Linked DNA regions of Homo sapiens: all the other regions are linked to region 1. Evidence: promoter capture Hi-C in 16 types of primary human blood cells and fetal thymus (Javierre and others, 2016). All regions are on one chromosome and are shown on one strand. The core of a region is centred on a gene start or on the middle of the fragment in contact, and the rest is flanking DNA. Distances in the headings are between cores, read along the strand shown.

Region 1 (3,058 bases), core at 546-3,045:
CTGCAAAGTGTTCTCCATCTCACCACCTCCACCAGGTCTTCCAGGAGGCCTCCGAGCAAAATAAAGAAAGCCACCATATACCAGCTGCCCTGTGCCTACCCAGGGGAAGGGCACCCGGACTCGGGAAGCTTTCCGGGCAGCCATGGCAAGGGTGAAGTCACGCAGCCTTGGGAAGACAAAGGCTGTGTCATTCTGTGTCCCATCTAACACGTAGATCTTCTCTGTTTGCCCCAGTGGATCCTTGGTCCATAGACCAGCTGGGCCACCAAATCGCTTCAGAATCTTCATTGATCTCACTTGAGAGATTGTGTAGCCACAGTCTGATGAGAAAAGCACAGGAAAAGGAAATAGAGGCAAGAATTAGATGCCTCCAGCAGGAACTCCCCCAGGGTGGGTGATCTGGAGAATAGTGAGCATTTGCCCAGTGGTTGCCTCCAATCTTAGGGAGAATTGAGAAAGAGCGGGTACCACAGCGGCCTGGATCCCCAGAACCTCTCCTTAATAGACCTGGCATTACAGAGGTTTCCCTAAAACAGATTCCAGAAGACAGAGCCACAATGGACTGGGACAAAGCGAAAAAAAGAGTAAGAAGCAAGGAAGGAAGAATATCGGTTCTGAGAAGAGTTAGGGGCCTGCTTTCAGATTATTTACCTGTCACCATATCGTACTTCTCATTCCTTCTTCCCTTGCCTTTGGTCCCAGGGCCTCCAGTCACCTTCTCATCAAACTCTACACAGGGCAGAGCTGGGTTCTGGGTCTCCAGATAGTCTACCTCCCGCTCCAGACGATCCACTCTCCCGGAGATGGTGTCGGCCTCAGTTCTGAGTGCCTCCCGCTCCTTCTCTGCCACCTCCAGCAGTGGCAGCATCTTGTTCTTGAAGTCCCGCAGCTCAGCAGCATGCCGACTACTCTGGTCCTGGCACTGGGCCAGCCGTTCCTGAAGGGATGGGGGATCAGGAGGGAGGCTGCAGGGTTACAACTCCCAGGCAGGGAGAGGCCCAACTCGGGAGTCAGGAATGGGAAAAAAAGAGCAAACTCAGCCAGGCTTCAATATCCCCTTCCACTCCTGCAGAAAAGGAAACCAGATGTGCAGAGGTGCTAAATGTGCAAAGAGCCTAGCTGAGATTCACCTAGGCCCCTACCCCGACTCCATGTCCTCCAGCCTGTGTTCTCTGTGAGCAGTGCCACTGAGCCATCTGAGCCTCTAGGCAGGTCTAAGCGCATGAAGGTGTGAAGAGGTCTCTGCTCCCTTAGCAATTATCCTCTCGGACACTAAAATGCTACGGATCTCAACCTGTTAAAAAGACAGGAAGTTATAGATTCCCCGGGAACCTCCAACTTCAACAGAATCATCACCTTCTCTGGAGATGCAGCCCCACAATTTTGGCTCTCGTTTCCACTCTGCCCCCTTATTCTATCTAATCCCAGAGGTAAAACGCAAAAGTCGATTTGCTTTGGAATTGTTCTATGTGGGGTAAGAGGAGGGCTTGTCATTCCGAAGGTCCTCTTATTAAGAGAGAATTTTCTGTAGACTCTAACAGAGCCCTTTCTTGTTATCCCCAGATCCCTAACAAACTGGTTGAACCAATAGCCCTGGAATCCTTCTAGGCGGGGCTAGAAGAGAAAGGGGTCCCTCACCTCTAAAGCAGCTAGTCGGCGTTCCATGTACTCCACAAGGTGGTGCTGCTGTCCTTGGAGGGGTCCCGACCATGACAAAAGGAACAAGATGAGGAGAGGGGTGCTGGGCCCCATGGCAGCCTGGAGAGTGGTGCCAGAGTAGAAGGAACGTACAGTCAGCCTCTTCCCCTCAAGCCCGAGGGTTAGCTTTGGAGGCGGGGTGGGGGCGGTGCCTTCTCTCCTGATCTCTGGGTCTCTCTCACTACTCTGGAATGCTTTCAGTTCTCTTTACAACCCCCACCCCCTCCTTTCCGCCAGGATTGATCAAACACAGATGGCCCCATTGCACAGCAGCCAGAAGCCTTAACCACCTCCCGCCTAGGCTGTAGGGTCCTCTGGAGGGGAAAGAGATGGAAACCCGAAAGCAGAGGCCTTCTAGGCAGTCAAGCAGGGAAGCTAGCTGCAGAAAGCAGAGACCCCAGAGAAAACTCAGCAAACGCCATTCCTGTTTTAGGAAAGTTTCACCAGTGCTGACTTAAGAAACTGACATTTTTCATTAATCTTTCCCTTTCCCTGCAATAGAGTGGGTTTTCAGCCTTGTTCAGTAGAAGCTGGGAGCTGGGGAGGTGAGGCTTGAAGGGAGGAAGCAGGAAAACAATGGCCCAAGTGGTCAAGCCCAACTTATTCTAAAGCTCATTGGCGCCACCTTGTGCTAAGCAGCTGGTGTCATCTCTCATGATAATACAGAAACTAAGGCTTAGACTTCACCCCATGAGGAAAATTTTCCACAAAAGCCAAATATATTGAATTTACAGGGGTTTTCACCACTGAAATGCATATTTCCCCCAAGACTATCCAATTACTACTTTGGGGGCTATGCAAATATCTGATTTAGCCCAAGGAAGAAAATATAACTGAGATTAAAAAAAAAAAAAAAACAGGTCACTGAGAAGTTAGTAAATTAACTCGATCGTCTGGAAGTTAAGGCTGACAGCAGCGCTGTTTTACATGGCTTTCCTTTGCTTGAAAGAGGCCAGATATAGTCTCTCACCAAAACTGAGGAGTGTTCAGTGAGTTCACACTAATTTACTATACATTCATGTATTGCGGGGGGGCGGAATCTGATATATATATATATGTTGTTGCAGTCTAGATCAATGTATTCTGACTTCCTTACCACTGGGAGAAAAGACTATTGGTTATTTCTCTTGGTTGTGGTCCAAAAGGGTATTTCTGAGTGTTTCTCATTTCTATATCCCAACTAAGGCTGCAGGAGCCCAAAATGAATTAATGGCCACCATAAGGTAGACTTGGGCCATAAGGTAGACACACGGGCCGAAAAAAAAAATCAAATAGAGCATTTACTCAGAGACCTGCAGTCATTAATCGAAACAAACCCCTATTTCTTTATCGGGAGAAATTCTATTCACTTTAGAATCAA
Region 2 (3,333 bases), core at 676-3,175, 700 kb before region 1:
TTAAGAAGATCATTTCGGATCAGTCCTCTAGCTTTATGAAGATCATAAATAACTCACTGAGAATGATTAAAACTAAGATAGAATAAGAACTATGTACAGTTTGGTATACATTTTCTTTCACCTGGTCTTCTCTGTGTCAAGTCCATTCCTTCCCATGCTCATCTCTACTGGGATGTGGCTTTCTTGTATCAGAACCTTTACTACTGTCTGTCAATTGTCCCACCTACAAGTGCTCAAGTTCTCCACAATCAATGAGTATTTATCAATGGTATTGCTGAGGACATCATCTCCCTTTCATACCACCTGCTATCATTCATCGCCTTCAGGGATGGCTTCTCTTTCAGTTTGTTCAGTATCATTGATCTTTTATCTAACTTGGGTGTTTATATGTTTTCTGGCTACCTGTCTTTGTGTTCTGTGTGACCTACTGCAATGCAAGAGTTTCATCCTGTCTCTTTAACCAAAAAAAGTAATTTTTTGACTGGGATAATACTTCCTAATAGGCAGAGAGGCAGTAGGTTGGTTAGGAGTATAGATTCTGGACCCAGAGTGGTGATACTTGAATCCTGGCAATACTTAAATCAAGGTAACACAACCATTTAGCTGTGTTACCTTGGGTTAAGTTATATCACCCCATTGTGCCTTAGTTTCATCATCTCTAAAACAAGGTTAAAAACAATACCTAACTTATTGAGTTGTTATGAGGATTACATTAGCTAATATTTCTGGTCACTTAGAAGAGTGCTTGGAATATATTAAATGCTATATCAGAGTTTGTTAAATTGCAGATCAGAGGTATTCTTGGTAATCATTTCCTGTTCACTGTCTTGTAGTTACACACATATATTGAAGCTTTTATGACGTAATTGCATATTCCTCTATGAGGACTTAGCTGTGAAGGTTTAGTTTTCTTATGACAAAGGTTTGTAAAAAAGATGGGGACATAGGGTCCACCAAAAAATTTTTATTTCCTATGTGCTGCCCAAACTGAATCCCTCTCTATAGGGGACCAAAAAGAATGTATGAGGAGCATGGACCTAGGATAGATATACCACGTCTTTTCCTGTGCATGACATTCGATTCTCTGGTTCCCTCATACTGGGGCTATCAGTCCTAAAAATCTTTTTTTCTCCTAAATTCTCTTCATTCTTGCCTCTAGTGATGTGTTCCGTTCCAAGAATTTCCTTCCACATTTTGGAAAAATGCTGGAGAATATTTTCATGCCAGTGTTTGAGGCCACCATCAACCCCCAGGCTGACCCAGAACTCAGTGTCTTCCTCAAGCATGTAAGCATGACCCTTCAGGCCTTCATACTGCTGCTCATGAACCAGCCTTCCTACCTGGTCATGACTAATTCTTGGTGCTTATCTCTTTATGTTTGGTCTGTGCCTTTGGACCTGAAAGTTTGTGTGAGGACTGGGACCCTGAAGTTGGACTGAACCCATTGCATGGCTCACTTTTCCTAACAGATCACTGGCTTTGACAGTGTGGATGATGAGTCCAAACACAGTGGCCACATGTTCTCCTCCAAGAGTCCCAAGCCCCAGGAGTGGACATTGGAAAAGAATCCATCTTACACTTACTATGCCTACTACATGTATGCAAACATCATGGTGCTCAACAGCCTGAGAAAGTAAGTAGGAGACAGCTGGAGCTAGGAGGGTCTATTTGACACAGCTCTTTCCACATATATTGGCAATTAAGGTGGTCAGGGGCCTCATGCATTACTGTGATGGTTCCAATTGGCCCAAATCAGAAATTTCTTTCTCTTAACTTTTTTCTTCAGTTTATTTATTTTGGGGCAGAAATCGGTATTTCGATGCTTTCAATAACTTTCACAGTTCCTTTTTTTTTGGGAAGTTTAGGAATTTATACTAATCATTGTGCAATTAATGATAAAACTTCATATATTTTGCCCTTCTTGATATATTTGGGTAAGGAATAAGTAGAGGAATATTATACTGGAGTTTTCTGGAAACATTTCTCCCTTAAAATTTGAATAGAATAGAATAAATGATGAGATGTTGATATTGGTAAATTTCCTATTGAGACTGAACGTATTTCCATCCAGGCAATCAACACTTTATTTGCTTCCTTACCCCCATATCCTCTGCTGCCTCTTTTTGGAAACTTTGTATTTAGCAAGAATTAAGATTATGATTTGGGACTGTTTTGCTGAATCCTTTGGATGGCTTACTTCCTTCCAGAGTGTTCACTTTTCTACTGAATTTTCTTGTGAATCACTCCATACCCAGAACCTGCGATTCCAATAGCAGTTCTATTTCCCCAGGGAACGAGGCATGAATACGTTTCTGTTCCGACCTCACTGTGGAGAAGCTGGAGCCCTCACCCATCTCATGACAGCATTCATGATAGCAGATGATATCTCTCATGGCCTAAATTTAAAAAAGGTGAGTTGGAAGCTCTCTTCTTAACTTTTACATTGGAGCTAGAGGAATCTTTTTTCCCTTAACCAACCATACTGTCACAAGTCATTATCGACACTGCAATCATAATCAAGTAGAGCATAAAAGATTTTTTAGTTTAGTGCAGTTCATTCTACAGAAAGAAGTAAAGGGACTTGCTCAAGATTACCTTGCTAGTTGCTGTCAGATAAAAGTTAACGCAGATCTCCTGACTTCTAGCTTAGAATCCTGACAAGGGATAATTCAGAGATGGCCTGGCTTTCCTTAAGCTAGTTTTTGCCAGATTTCTTGTTATAGCATGCTTCAAGATGTTTTTTTGTGAGAGTCAGAACTTTCTTGTAGAGAGAGAGAGAAAAAATAATGTTTCAAGGCAAAGTCTTTTGCCTGAGACAGACCATCTAACGTAGGCCATTATAGATCAAATAAACAATCTGGTTTGACTCAATGTTTCTGAAAATTAATGTATCCTAAGTACATTTATTCTAAATAGCATTTACATTGAAAAACTCCTAAATTCTCCTTACTAAGAGACTTGAAGAACAAGTGATAATTTTGTTGAAAGCTGAAGCTTAAGGCAGACCATGAGATTGTAGTGTTTCTAGTTTGTATTCCTTTTTCAACATCTTTAAATATTTTTTTACTTTTCTTTTTCAGAGTCCCGTGCTACAGTACTTGTTTTTCTTAGCCCAAATTCCCATCGCCATGTCACCACTAAGTAACAATAGCCTATTTCTAGAGTATGCCAAAAATCCTTTTTTGGATTTCCTTCAGAAAGGGCTAATGATCTCACTGTCTACAGATGACCCAATGCAATTCCACTTTACCAAGGTATAGTATGGACTTGGGCAATACAAGCATATTTTGCTGGACTGTTGTTTCCCGTCCAGAATTTGAAAGTCAAATAAAG
Region 3 (3,094 bases), core at 306-2,805, 600 kb before region 1:
CCCAGTGGGGCTTCTACTAGACATCTCTCCATTTGGTCTCTTCTTACACTCCAACCCAGCAGGAACAGTTAATAATTGGATGTTTATAAAATGGGGGTAAAAGGGTTTACTGTGATGGATCCTGGCTATCCCTCTAGGAGGAGACCTTTGCTTCAGCAATGGTGTCTTCATCCTCGCAGCCTGAAGCTGCTTCATTTCCTTAGGTCTGTTGTGTTTTCTGTAAAGTGTTAGGAATTCTGGATATTTTTGTAAAAGAATCAAGATTTGTATAAAATGTTGTTTACAGATCTTTTAATGAATAAATACATAAACCCCCCACAGATCCCTTGGAGAATTCTTTAAGATCTTTTATGTCACTTAAATCTATAGCTAGCACATTTACCTAATGGTACTTCGGTAATAAGAATTAGTCTTAGACTGACCAGGCTTAATAACGGAGGTCAACATTTCCAGGCTCTTGGCAGACAAAGGCTGGGTCTAGACTGCACACTGGGCAGGGCATATAGTCTGACAACTTTATTTGGTTTTTACCTGCTTAATCAAAGGGAGGCTGCTTAGTCCAGGAGCCATGCAGAAGAGAGTGCATGGGCAGCAGCTTGAGTGGTTCGGAGGCAGTGAGGAATGCCATTCTATTACCGTTAAGTCCTAAAGGCAAAATGACAGGATTTTTAAGGAACTGAGGTTCCTTTTGATACGCAGACCATAAAGCTTCACAATTTTAATTGGAGACTGGCGCCCAATTCTAGAGTCTCTTTAAAAAATGTACTTACCCAATGCAAAGGTTTTAAGGGCACCGAGGGGGAAGGATAGTTGGGGTACAGCAAGGAAGTAAAAGAGGAATGACCCGGGGTGCAGTGGCTCACGCCTGTATTCCCCACATTTTGGGAGGCCAGGAGTTCGAGGCTAGGCTTGGCAACATAGAAAGGCTCCATCTCTACAAAAAAAATTAAAAATTAGCCAGGCATGGTGGTGTGCACCTCTAGGCCCAGCTACTCGGGAGGCTGAGGTGGAAGGATCGCTTGGGCCCGGGGGGTTGAGGCTGCAGTGAGCTATGATCACGCCACTGCACTCCAACCTGGGCAGCAGAACAAAGACCCTGTGTCTACAATAAAAAAGGAAAAAAGTCTCGCACAGAGGAAGAGAAGATTAAGGGGAGAAGGTGGGAGTAAGCAGAGGTGGGAAACCAGTTTATCTCTCCCCGCCAAATGCTGCAGCCAGTTCCCTCCAAAAGTGTTAAGGGGCTCCCTTTCCAGATATCAATGTTTTGGAGGAAACGAAAAGCCCCAACTTCAAATCGCCGCCATTCGCAGGCAAAAAAAGGGGCAGTAAGCAGAGGACAGGAAATTGAGGCCTTTCGCTGACGCAGACAAGCCAAGACGTTACGTCACGTCCGCCCAAAACAAACCAGCCCGGCAATTTCTAGATACCGGGCGGACCCGCCTTCAAAATTAGCAACTGAGCATGCACTAACGTCAATACGGAGGGAACGTGATTACATCAGTGTCAGGCGCCGGCGTAATTAAATATAACTGAGTTTACGCAGACGCAGAAAACGCAGGCAAACCTGAGGTCCTCAGAATGGCGGGCACAGGTTTGGTGGCTGGAGAGGTTGTGGTGGATGCGCTGCCGTATTTTGATCAAGGTTATGAAGCCCCTGGTGTGCGGGAAGCGGTGAGTGCGGGGTGTCTTTGTAGCTGACTCACTGCTAGCTGGCTCGGTACTGAAAGAAACATGTTACAATTTGCCACTTCTACCCTGGTCCCTATTCTCTTTCTTAGGCTGCAGCGCTGGTGGAGGAGGAAACTCGCAGATACCGACCTACTAAGAACTACCTGAGCTACCTGACAGCCCCGGATTATTCTGCCTTTGAAGTAAGTATGTCTTGAGCCTAGGTGTGAACGAGAATTCCTGTGAACCTTTATTTTGGATTGAGAGCTTTAAATTCCAGTTTTAACCATTGCCTGCATAGCTACTACTTACCTACTGTATAGGTGTCAGTCTATTGAAAACAACTAGATAGATAAGTCTTCTCCGAGGTTCTTATTCTAAGATCCATAGGAAGACTTTCTGGGGCTCCACAACTCACTTAATGCAAAAATTTGTGGCTACCATTCTTTGAGATAGGATCCATGCGTAAATTCTCAAAGGGACCCTCTCCTGCCAAGATTCACTCTACAGCAAGTGATCTAGGGTTTTTTAATATGTATAAGCCTAATTACCTAAGCTCTTTAGAACCACTGGAGAGTGGCATATTAAAGTCTAGTTATTTACCAAATGTATGTGATACGACTGAAAGGACAAACCATATCCAAGTGTATACTACTTTTTTCTCAGCCTTCTCCTTTTTTCTGTAATCTATCCGATGTTTTTATTAACACATTTCTGATTAATGTAGGCAATAATTTTCACTGATATGAATACTTTACAAGTGCTAGGTGCCATTCTAGATTCTGAGATCATAGAGATATATGGGGTTTCTTTTTTAATATATTTTGTTTTCTTTTAATTTTTCTTTTCTTTATTTAAGACAAACATCCTCTCCAAAAAAGATAGGGTTTCTGAATACAGAAAAATACAATACAGTGAGGAGCTAGATATATAAAACAAAAAGTTTACAATAGTATGTATAAATGTGTAATAATATGTAAAGGACCTATAGCGGAGGGTATGTATAAGGACAAGAGGATTAGAGAAGGGAGTGTCCATGATTGCCTAAGGAGTCAGATGCTGTTCTACTCCACACATTGAGTATGATACTATTTTAAATGTATAACCTTGAAGTACACCCAGGATTCTAGTTAGGGTCTAGTTAGCTAAATGAAATGTAAGATATCATTTCTAAATTATTGGATTCAAGTATTTCAGTATGTACAGCTTGGAGGATTTTTTCCCATTATACCTAATCGTTTATTTATGAAAGGATTGTATTATTAAAAGGCAGTATTTAGCTGGGTGTGGTGGCTCACACCTGTAATCCCAGCACTTTAGGAGGCTGAGGTGTGAGGATCACTTGAGACCAGCCTGGGCAACATAGTGAGACCCTTTCTCTACAAAAGAAAAATTAAAAAGTTAGCCAGGCATGATGGCATGCACC
Region 4 (3,282 bases), core at 130-2,629, 580 kb before region 1:
CATCAGAGTGTTGGCCAGGAGAAACTGCTTTGCGGACCCACTTTGTTCTGACTTTCAGAATTGTAAGATGATAAATATGTTTTGCTTGAAACCACCCACTTTATAGCAATTTGCTACGGCACTGATAGGAAACTAATACAATAGTTGGTAAAGAGTGATGATAAATGTTGAGGAAACTAATACAATAGTTGATAAAGAATAATGATAAATGTTTGATTTAACATGGTGAAAAATCTACATATGTTTATTATAGGCAAATCAGAAAATGCAGATAAAAAGAAAATGAAAATTATTCATAAGACTGCCACTCAAGGTACTATGTTTATTTAGTGCCAGAAGAACACAGAAACCACATTTCATTTAATTTCAATACAAATTTGTTGGATACCATAGAATCAAAAATAAGTTGGACTAATGGGACACTCTGTAAACCTGTTCATGAACAGAAGTTTCTATTTCTGTTTCACCCTGCTTTCTACCCTGAGAACTAAGATTTATTATATTAGACCCACTTCACTTCCTCTATCCTTAGAAGTCTATTTCTGGATATTAGAAGTCTGTTTGCAAGTGACAGAAAGCTAACTAAAACTACCTTAAGCAGTAAAGGGGGATTTATTGGTTCATTTAATTTGTAAGCACAGAGGTGGAACTAGCTGCATCGTCAACTAAATCCAGGGATTCCAGTTGGGCATGGTGGCTCATGCCTGTAATCCTAGCACTTTGGGGAGGTTCAGGCAGGAGTTTCAGGCTGCAGTGAGCTATGATCACACAGCTGACTCCAACCTGGGTGACAAAGTGAGACCCTGTCTCAAAAAAAATTTTTTTTCAATAAATAAAATATAAAAAATAATTCCAGAGATCCCGTGTCGTCCTGTTTTTCATCTCTCTGTTTCTCTTTCTGGCCATATTGTCTCCTACAAATAGGCTTCCTCTATACAACAGAGGCCAAAGCCACAGGCAGCTCCAGACTTACATCATCTCAGTTTAGCAGCCTTAGAAGGAAGCAAATATATCAGTATATATTATTTCAGAGGATTTTGATTGATGTGCTCTAAATTTCACGTTCAGTCCTTAGAGTCAGAAGTATAGCTAGGACTTGGGGGCACTGTGATTGGCCAGATATCGATCATATACCTGTAGAATTGAGGGTAGAGTACTATGCTTGGCAGTTGATTGGATTGGAGTAATAGCTCCCCAAAGTAAGATAGGATGGCGCTTCTATCAGGAGAGGAAGTAGTTGGGCAGATAATGACAACATGTCTATTACACCCTGGATCTTACCTGAGTTAAGAGGCAACCCCTTGGCCAGGAGCAGTGGCTCGCGCCTGTAATCCTAGCACTTTGGGAGGTGGAGGGGAAAAGATCACTTGAGGCCAGCAGTTCAAGACCAACTTGGCCAACATAGTAAGACCTCGTCTCTATAAAATAGAGAGAGAGAGGTAACCCCTTTCACTTAGCTGGCCCAGTATGATAAACAGTTCACCCAACTACTCCCTAGGATTTTTTTCTTTCTAAAGAAAAATATAATAGGTTATATTTATTATGGCATAATTTTAGTAGTGGAGAACTGGGATGGTCTGTCTGTTTCATAGTTTGTGCTGGGAAATAGCCATAAAAGTCAATAAGCTGGCTATTGTGGTTTGTTGAGAGATGTGGGCCAAGTAATTTGTTATTCACTGTAACTTAAGATCTGCAGTTTTTAGCTGGGCACGGTGGCTCACACCTATAATCCCAGCACTTTGGGAGGCTCAGGTGAGAGGATCGCTGAAACCCAGGAGTTTGAGACCAGCTTGTGACCTACATAGTAAGACCCCTATCTTAAAAAAAAAAAAATTAAATGAATAAATAAATAAATAACCTGCAGTTTCGTTTTTGTGTTTTGAGACAAGGTCTCTCTCTGTCACTCAGACTGGAGTGCAATGGTGCAATCCTGGCTCACTGCAACCTCTGCCTCCCAGGTTCAAGTAATTCTCCTGCCTCAGCCTCCCGAGTAGCTGGGGTTACAGGCACATGCCACCACGGCTGGCTAATTTTTGTGTTTTTAGTAGAGATAGGGTTTTGCCATGTTGGCCAGGGTGGTCTGAAATTCCTGTCCTCAAGTATTCCACCCGCCTTGGCCTCCCAAAGTGCTGGGATTACAGGTGTGAACCACACCCAGCCAAAACCTGCAGTTTTTAATAACTTTCTTTCTAAATATATCATACAGATTCAAGATGATCCCTATGCATATCTCACTTGGTTGTATTTTTACATGTCTTTGAGAAGGAAAGGGGTAAACCCAGAACTTGTTGTCTCAGTGACTTACTGTAGCAGGGACTACATACTTGCCCCTCTAATATATGTTATCCTCTCCTATAATAATAGAAGTTTTAGCTGGGCATATGGATGCTCAACTAAAAACTTAACTGCTAGCTTCCCATCCAACCATGTACATATGCTGTGTGACTAGGTTGTGTCCAATGAGATAGGAACTGAAGTGATGTGTGCAACTTTCAAGTTCTGCTTTTAGTTACCACATTTTACCAACCAGAAATCTTTTTTTTTTTCTTGAGACGGGGTCTCACTCTGTTGCACAGTCTAGAGTGTGGTGGCACAATCTCAGCTCACTGCAGCCTCAATCTCCCGGGCTCAAGTGATTCTCCCTCCTCAGCCACCCGAGTAGCTGGGATTACAAGCAGACGCCACCATGCCCAGCTAATATTTCTGGTTTTTGTAGAGATGGGGTTTCATCATGTTGCCCAGGCTGGTCTCAAACACCTGGGCACGAGTGACCCACCCACCTTGGTCTCCCAAAGTGCTGGGATTCCAAGTGTGAGCCACCACACTCAGCCAACAGTTTCTCTAACATATTTTTTTTTCTCTAGATCTTAAAAACATTTGGTCAAGGAATTTAGATATGGACTTTAAGGGTACATAATTCAGGATAATAAAAAGCTCAGCTTCATCTTAGCTCAGTGTTCCCTTCTTCCTCCACACTTTACAACTAAATGCATTCAAAGGAATACGCTATTGATGTGTGTACAACAAAGTGGTCTTAAATTGAATTCTGTCAATGGCCATATATATTAGACTTTTGCTTATAATTACAATTAAATTTTACCACTCACTAAAACTAGCCCTAAGAACATCTTCTTAGTCACACTTAAATGTTATTTGGCTTATTTTCTATTTTGGGCTTTTCACTAAGTTTCAAGATCTTCTTTTCAGTCTGCTATCTATTATGCTCTCCTACTTTTAAAAGAGGGCCTGCTTATTTCCTGTAGTATTCTTGTTTGACCATAG
Region 5 (3,168 bases), core at 583-3,082, 720 kb before region 1:
CTTTTAAAAGAACTTTTGGAGACATCCCACCCAGCAATTCTGCTTACATCACTTTGGCCAGGCTGTGTCAAATGGCCGCTTCTAGCCACAAAGGATTCTAGCAAATGCTGTTTTTTGGCTGAGCACATTAATGCTCAAACCAAAGAAGTTTTTGTTTGTAAGAAAGGTAGGGAAAATGATCTTTGGGTAGGCAACTAGGGTATTTACACAATTGGAATGAGAAAATTGGAGTGTAACTTATATAAAGATAGGAATTACTGAAGGAGAAGCAGGTTCATGGAGGAAGATGCTTGGTTTGGATGTATCAATTTGTGGATACTGTTGGGAAATCCAGGTAAAAATGTAACAAAAAGGAGTTGGAAAGAAATGAACAAATATTTTGGTTCAGTAACACCTTTGTAATGTGTTGCAATATTGTTGATTGAGAGGTTGGCCATAAGGCTAAGCACTAAAATATTGTTAAGTTTTGCCAACAAAAAGGCTTGTCCCAATTTTCAAAAAGAAATAGTTAATAGTAAAAAGATCATTTGGTCTATGCCCATAATTCTGTTGCTAATCTGAAGTGCCAAGCTCATCTTCAATATAAGCTGTTATAATTTAAAATTTCTGCTGAGTCTAGCAGCGTACTTTCTTTACCTAGCAGCAACTATCAAATATTTAGTCATAACTGGCCGGGCGCAGTGGCTCACGCCTGTAATCCCAGCACTTTGGGAGGCCAAGGCAGGTGGATCATGAGGTCAGGAGATCAAGACCATCCTGGCTAACACAGTGAAACCACATCTCTACTAAAAATACAAAAAATATTAGCCGGGCATGGTGGCAGGCGCCTGTAGTCCCAGCTACTCGGGAGGCTCAGGCAAGAGAATGGCGTGAACCCGGGAGGCAGAGCTTGCAGTGAGCCGAGATCGCGCCACTGCACTCCAGCCCGGGCAACAGAGCGAGACTCTGTCTCGAAAAAAATATATGTATATACACATATATATACATATATACATATATATACACACACATATATACAGTCATAACTAAGACTGTGTGTTATTATGGAAAGAGCGTGAGATTTGGGTCCAGAGAGCCTTGGCTTTGCCATTTATGATGAACAGAATGACTTTGAGCAAGATACCTGTCAGAGCCCCAGTTTTCTTATTTGGGAAACAGGGATAAGGTATTACTTGCCTTACAGGATTGTAATTAGTATCAAATAGATAATGTTTGCCAAATGTTTTACATACAATAAAATGTTATACAAAACAAAGCTATTGTTCTTATTATAACAATAGGTAGAGAAGTGGTAACTGGATACTCTGGAGGACAGTTGAGTTTCTGTAAAAGACTTGAAGTAAATTTAACACTTAATTCATTAAACTGTCAACTGAAGTTCTGCTAAGTCAGACACATTACTAATAAAAACATGCATTCCTGAGCGTGTGTGCGTGTGCGTGTGTGTCTGTTGAGAGCTTGATGAATGTACCAGCATATTCACCAACCACAGAAAGCTGTTTGCGTGATGTGAAACCCTGAGGATCATAGCTTCAGAAACCGGAAAGACTTCACTGTATTTCACTAGGGTGGGATATCACCATCAGTGGTCCTACACTTGCCAAAGATCCAGTCTGTAAGAAGATTTAGAGAGTATTGAAATGCAATTTTTGGCCCACCACAGATATCTTCTAATCCCAAAGTAAAGACTGAAAGCTTCACCTGTTTTTCACTATCAAATGCCTCAAGCTATAAATAGGTCCAAAGCTCATCTCTCTCCACTTAGCAGAGAAGAATCAAATTTCCGGGGGCAAAGCAAAATAATAAAATGAATGTCAGGATATTTTATAGTGTCAGTCAGTCACCCCACAGTCTCCTCTCTCTTCTTTTCTACTGTGCTATCCTAGAATCAAGGATTTCAGCAACAATGCCTCTGTTCAAACTCCCAGGTAGGTGTACAAAGTGTTTGGAGAGCTCAGTTGTTGTTGTTTTTTTTTTTTTTTGACAAGCAACTGTTCCTTTAGCTACCATATCAGCTTTGATCATTCATTTAGGGTTCGTGATAGCTTTAACATACATTTCAGGAAAACACAAAATATTTTCAAGGGTTTTTTGTTTGTTTTTAGTTTTGGGATGTGGGTAAGTTTCTAAAACTGTTATCATGTATATTGCATCTTTGATGATCCCAGTAGAAAACTCTGTGAAATATTTAATATCTATTCTGCTAGTCTAAACAAAACCTGTGCTGCCATAGCTCTGAGACGGCTTCTACATAATGACTCTAGCTATGGTATTGGCTGAAAATCATGAACATGACAAAAATAACCCATGTGTGTATTCTGATGGTTCACGAGAATAGCTTTCTGTTGTCCAGGTTTGTACGCAGAGTAATTTTTAAAATAATAATGTTATAATTTTTAAATGATAAAAGCAATACATGTTTCATGTGAAATAGAAATTGTGCTGAAAAAATAAAAGTAATAAACATTCGTTTTGAAAGTTGGGAAATTCAGTAAAAGTAATAATTTTATTTTTTACTTATTTATTTATTTTTTGAGACAGGGTGTCACTCTGTTGCCCAGGCTGGAGTGCAGTGGCACGATCACGATTCACTGCAGCCCCAATCTTCTGGGATCTGGTGATCCTCCCACCTCAGCCTCCCGAGTAGCTGGGACTACAGGCACTTGCCACCACGCCCAGCTAGTTTTTGTATTTTCTGTAGAGACAGGGTTTCGCTATGTTGCCCAGGCTCATCTTAAACTCCTGAGCTCAAGCAATCTGCCTGCCTCAGCCTCCCAAAGTGCTGGGATTACAAGTGTTAGCCACTGCACCCAGCCAAAAGTAATAATTTTAAAAATCTGCACATCCATTATCCAAAGATATTCACTCTTAACATTTTAGTGTTTTTTTTTCTTTTCAATCTATTTTCTGTGTAAAATTAAAGAGTTTTTTTTAAAAAGGCACTGTTATTATATTGCACATGTAATTTTATATCCTGCTTTTGGCAGGATAATGTTTTGGCTTAACTTTACAACTTATCCTTTTACCATGGTATCCCAAACCTTTCCTAAAAACCATTTTAAAAGACTGCATATTCTATTTTCTTAATTAATCCCTTAGGTTCTTTATGGTTTGGGGGTTTTTTTTTGTTTGTTCGTTTTTGTTTTTGTTTTTGTTTTTTTAGAGACA
Region 6 (3,535 bases), core at 9-2,508, 740 kb before region 1:
GATCATCTTTACCCATATTCTGTATTAAAGGAATAAGAGGAGAGAAAGTAAAAAGTTATTTTGGGTATACATTCAGTTATGCAATAAGCTTAACGTGTTTATAGAGAACAGTTCATTTTTATTAGCTGCTGAAGTTTCTAAAACCTGTCCAGTTTTTAACAGTTCTGTAAACTATTGCAAACTCAGTGTTGAGTTCATTCATGAGTTTCTTCATATATAACAGCTCTATTACATGAGAAACACAGGCCATAGTAGCGAGACTGTCTGATTGTATGGGAGATAATAGGATGGAGATAAAGGATTCAGAGATGAGTGTTCTTCAATATTTATTTATTAGCTAGTTGAAGCAGCTGAGACCAGATGATTGGAGTAGCAAGAACTTGAGATTTTTAGTCTTTATGCCTAGGATTTTGGTCCCTGTTTGCAGTTTATTTAGTTGTGTGATATTGAGCAACTGAATCTCTCCCAACCTCATTTTCCTCATGTTTTAAATTACCATAAACTTGTCCTGCCTACCACACAGGGATGTTATGGAAAGTTAAATAATATATTTAAGTTATTTATGAATGGTAAAGCACTATGTAATAGTACTTAGGGATTCTATTGTTATTATGAGAGTTCATGGTACAGATTGTCTTCAGTAAGTGGCACCTAAGGCTCTTTAAATAAAGGGTTTTGCCGGACACGGTGGCTCACGCCTGTAATCCCAGCACTTTGGGAGGCTGAGGCAGGCGGATCACAAGGTCAGGAGTTCAAGACCAGCCTGATCAACATGGTGAAACCCCGTCTCTACTAAAAATACAAAAATTAGCTGGGTGTGGTGGCAGGCACCTGTAATCCCAGCTACTCAGGAGGCTGAGGCAGGAGAATCGCTTGAACCAGAGGCAGAGGGTGCAGTGAGCCGAGATCACACCACAGACCTCCAGCCTGGGCAACAGAGCGAGACTTCGTCTCAAAAAATAAATAAATAGATAAATAAATAAAGGGTTTTGTAATTTTGTTCAGTTTAGAAATGCCTAACTTTAGAGATTATTTTAATCAACACCTGGCCTCCCTACCATCTGGCTACTCGTGTTTAATTGATGAAAACTAACTCTAATGTAGCCACTATAAAAAATTGGTTGCTAACCCTTGGCAAAATCTTTATTTTGAGCTTAACAGCTTTAATATTTTACATGAAATGTTTAATATTTTAATTAAATATTTTTAAATGTTTGATTTATTGAGCAATTTACATAAGTAAAATACATAAATTTTATGTCTACAGCCCAGTGCTTTTTGCGTTTCTATATAGTCATGTAGCTACCACCCAGATAACAGTATAGAGCACTTCCAGTACTCCAGAGAGTTCTCCAAGTGTGATGACATTAAAATACAAGTAAAAGTCCTGTTGCCATAAAACCAAAATGAAAGTATTTTTTATATGATCTATGCATGTTTGTCTTCCTGAGAAATTAAACATAACTATACCTTGTTTGGAACCTTTAAGAATTTGATTCAGGAATATTTCCCAAAGGTACATCTGTCATGATAAAAAAAAAACCTTCTCTGAAACAAAGGTATTTGTATATTTAGTCATAAACACAAATGATGTATATAGGGCCAGGTTATAATTGGTGGAGGTATGTTTAGATTTCTTTAAGTAAAATAAACAGCACAAATAAAACAGTCCAGTTCATAGCTTAGTGAAATACACTGGGTACTTAATCTGTAGCCTCCTGGCTGCAGTAGAGTTGTCATTTGAGTTACTGTGTTTTCTTAATCTTTTCCAGGAACACAGTGACCATATTTCTTTTCTGCAGGCATATAGAATTTGGTGGGTTTTCTTTTATGTAGGGTGATATTGGATACTTTTTGTTTGTGATTATATATTAGCAATTTGAGGGACAAACCAGATAGGCAGAAATGGGCTTGAATAGTTAGATGCTTATTTAACCTTGGCAATAGCATTGCATTCCCTGTGGTTTTTAATAAAAATTGAACTTCCCTCCCTCCCTGCCCCCTTACCCTCCACACCCCCAGGATTCTTACAGAAAACAAGTGGTTATAGATGGTGAAACCTGTTTGTTGGACATACTGGATACAGCTGGACAAGAAGAGTACAGTGCCATGAGAGACCAATACATGAGGACAGGCGAAGGCTTCCTCTGTGTATTTGCCATCAATAATAGCAAGTCATTTGCGGATATTAACCTCTACAGGTACTAGGAGCATTATTTTCTCTGAAAGGATGATCTTTGTGTTCTGAATCTTTATGGGGAAATGAGGTTACCACACTAGGGAAGATAGAGCTTTTTAATTATGGGAAGAGTTGGTTTTAGGTTGTTTGACATTGAGAATCTAGGGTAATTACTGAAAGTTAATACTGGAATTTATTTTACATAATATACTGTTACTATAAAGTTTGATAATACATAAGTGAAGCTTGCTACTGGGAATGACTTGGAACCAGAGTTGTTGTAATTAGAGATCACGAAGGAATTTCAGAGAGGAAAACATCTCCAAGAAACATCTTTCAGTATGTAATGGAAAAGATAGGCCAGGCACAGTGGCTCACACCTGGAATGTCAGTGCTTTGGGAGGCCAAGGCGGGAGGATCACTTTCAGCCCAGGAGTTGGAGACCAGCCTGGGCAACAGAGCAAGACCCTGTCTCTACAAAAATAAAAATAAAAAAATTAGTCACACATGGTGGCAGCTACTCGGGAGGCAGAGGTGGGAGGATCACGTGAGCTCAGGAGGTCGAGGCATGCTCACTCCACTGCACTGCTGCACTCCAGCCTAATCAACAGAGCAAGATTCTGTCTCCAAAAAAAATAAAAAATAAAATGATAGGAGTAAGCAAATAGGAAGTCCATAAAGATGAAAACAAAGCAAGGGAACATAAAGATAGACTTTGTCCATAGAACCATAAAGTTTCAAAGCTAGATTGGACCATAAAAATTCTAGTACAATATTCTTATTTTGCAGAATCAGAAACAGAGTTCAGAATGTCGTTTGTTAGGTTTTGGAGTCAGGATTGTTATTAGTAGCAGAGCCAGGACCAAAAACCCAAAGCTCCTTTTTCTTAGCACAGTGTTCTTAAACAGAATAATATAATGGTTAAGAATGAGAACTCTGCCTGGATTGAAACCTAGCTCTGTTTATTAGCGACGTGACTCAGGGGCTATGTGGCTTTCCTAACCTATAATATGGAAATAATAATACCTACCTCATAGAGTTGTGAAGATTACAGTTTTAATAAATACGCAAATCACTCAGAATAGTGCCTGGCACACAGTAAATGCTACTTAAGTGTTCTGCCTAAAGGCTTGAGTCTTGGCTTATTTTCTATCCATGTGAAGATGTCTGCTCTCAAAAGCAGATTGGTCCAACACTGAATTCAAGTGTTCTTTTCCTAACCTGTTGTACTTCCCATTTTTTTTTTGTCTAAAAGTAATAGCAGTACTTAATAAAATGCCCACACTTGGCATGCATCTAATAAATGTTTTTTGAATTTCTAGAAGTCATTTTTCTTCTTTCTTACAAGAAATTTAT

Evidence for each region. Contacts are between HindIII fragments. The CHiCAGO score rates a contact against its expected background, and 5 or more counts as called.
Region 2: a fragment that was not itself captured here is called in contact with the fragment with the promoter of OLFML3 in region 1 in 6 of 17 cell types (M1 macrophages, endothelial precursors, total CD8 T cells and 3 more); the score reaches 8.8 in M1 macrophages.
Region 3: the fragment with the promoter of BCAS2 here is called in contact with the fragment with the promoter of OLFML3 in region 1 in 14 of 17 cell types (total CD8 T cells, total CD4 T cells, naive CD8 T cells and 11 more); the score reaches 15.8 in total CD8 T cells.
Region 4: a contact is called between a fragment that was not itself captured here and the fragment with the promoter of OLFML3 in region 1, in 6 of 17 cell types (total CD8 T cells, megakaryocytes, naive CD8 T cells and 3 more). The highest score is 7.3, in total CD8 T cells.
Region 5: the fragment with the promoter of AMPD1 here is called in contact with the fragment with the promoter of OLFML3 in region 1 in 4 of 17 cell types (total CD8 T cells, endothelial precursors, erythroblasts and 1 more); the score reaches 7.3 in total CD8 T cells.
Region 6: a fragment that was not itself captured here is called in contact with the fragment with the promoter of OLFML3 in region 1 in 3 of 17 cell types (M1 macrophages, M2 macrophages and endothelial precursors); the score reaches 5.8 in M1 macrophages.

Annotation. Positions count from the first base shown.
Region 1 is chr1:113,978,211-113,981,268 of GRCh38, reverse strand. It overlaps OLFML3 (olfactomedin like 3), which reads right to left and starts at 1,795. Exons shown (of 3, transcript NM_020190.5): 1 at 1,639-1,795; 2 at 652-937; 3 at 1-320. The coding sequence starts at 1,752. RefSeq lists enhancers at 1-50, 1,718-2,551. The HindIII fragment of the contact is 3,076 bases long and covers 131-3,058 here.
Region 2 is chr1:114,673,830-114,677,162 of GRCh38, reverse strand. It overlaps AMPD1 (adenosine monophosphate deaminase 1), which reads left to right. Exons shown (of 16, transcript NM_000036.3): 11 at 1,160-1,286; 12 at 1,470-1,633; 13 at 2,291-2,411; 14 at 3,081-3,254. Among named protein-coding and RNA genes, the nearest start is that of DENND2C, 5.4 kb to the right of the region's middle. The HindIII fragment of the contact is 2,142 bases long and covers 855-2,996 here.
Region 3 is chr1:114,580,076-114,583,169 of GRCh38, reverse strand. It overlaps BCAS2 (BCAS2 pre-mRNA processing factor), which reads left to right and starts at 1,555. Exons shown (of 7, transcript NM_005872.3): 1 at 1,555-1,671; 2 at 1,779-1,871. The coding sequence starts at 1,579. It overlaps DENND2C (DENN domain containing 2C), which reads left to right. Exons shown (of 21, transcript NM_001256404.2): 21 at 1-320. It overlaps LOC105378914 (a long non-coding RNA gene), which reads right to left and starts at 1,327. Exons shown (of 3, transcript XR_947719.4): 1 at 771-1,327; 2 at 532-645. The HindIII fragment of the contact is 8,807 bases long and covers 711-3,094 here.
Region 4 is chr1:114,558,754-114,562,035 of GRCh38, reverse strand. No RefSeq gene overlaps it. Among named protein-coding and RNA genes, the nearest start is that of BCAS2, 21 kb to the left of the region's middle. The HindIII fragment of the contact is 7,376 bases long and covers 1-3,282 here.
Region 5 is chr1:114,694,210-114,697,377 of GRCh38, reverse strand. AMPD1 (adenosine monophosphate deaminase 1) reads left to right here and starts at 1,832. Exons shown (of 16, transcript NM_000036.3): 1 at 1,832-1,928. The coding sequence starts at 1,907. The HindIII fragment of the contact is 1,819 bases long and covers 1,698-3,168 here.
Region 6 is chr1:114,712,466-114,716,000 of GRCh38, reverse strand. It overlaps NRAS (NRAS proto-oncogene, GTPase), which reads left to right. Exons shown (of 7, transcript NM_002524.5): 3 at 2,023-2,201. Among named protein-coding and RNA genes, the nearest start is that of NRAS, 2.5 kb to the left of the region's middle. The HindIII fragment of the contact is 2,336 bases long and covers 91-2,426 here.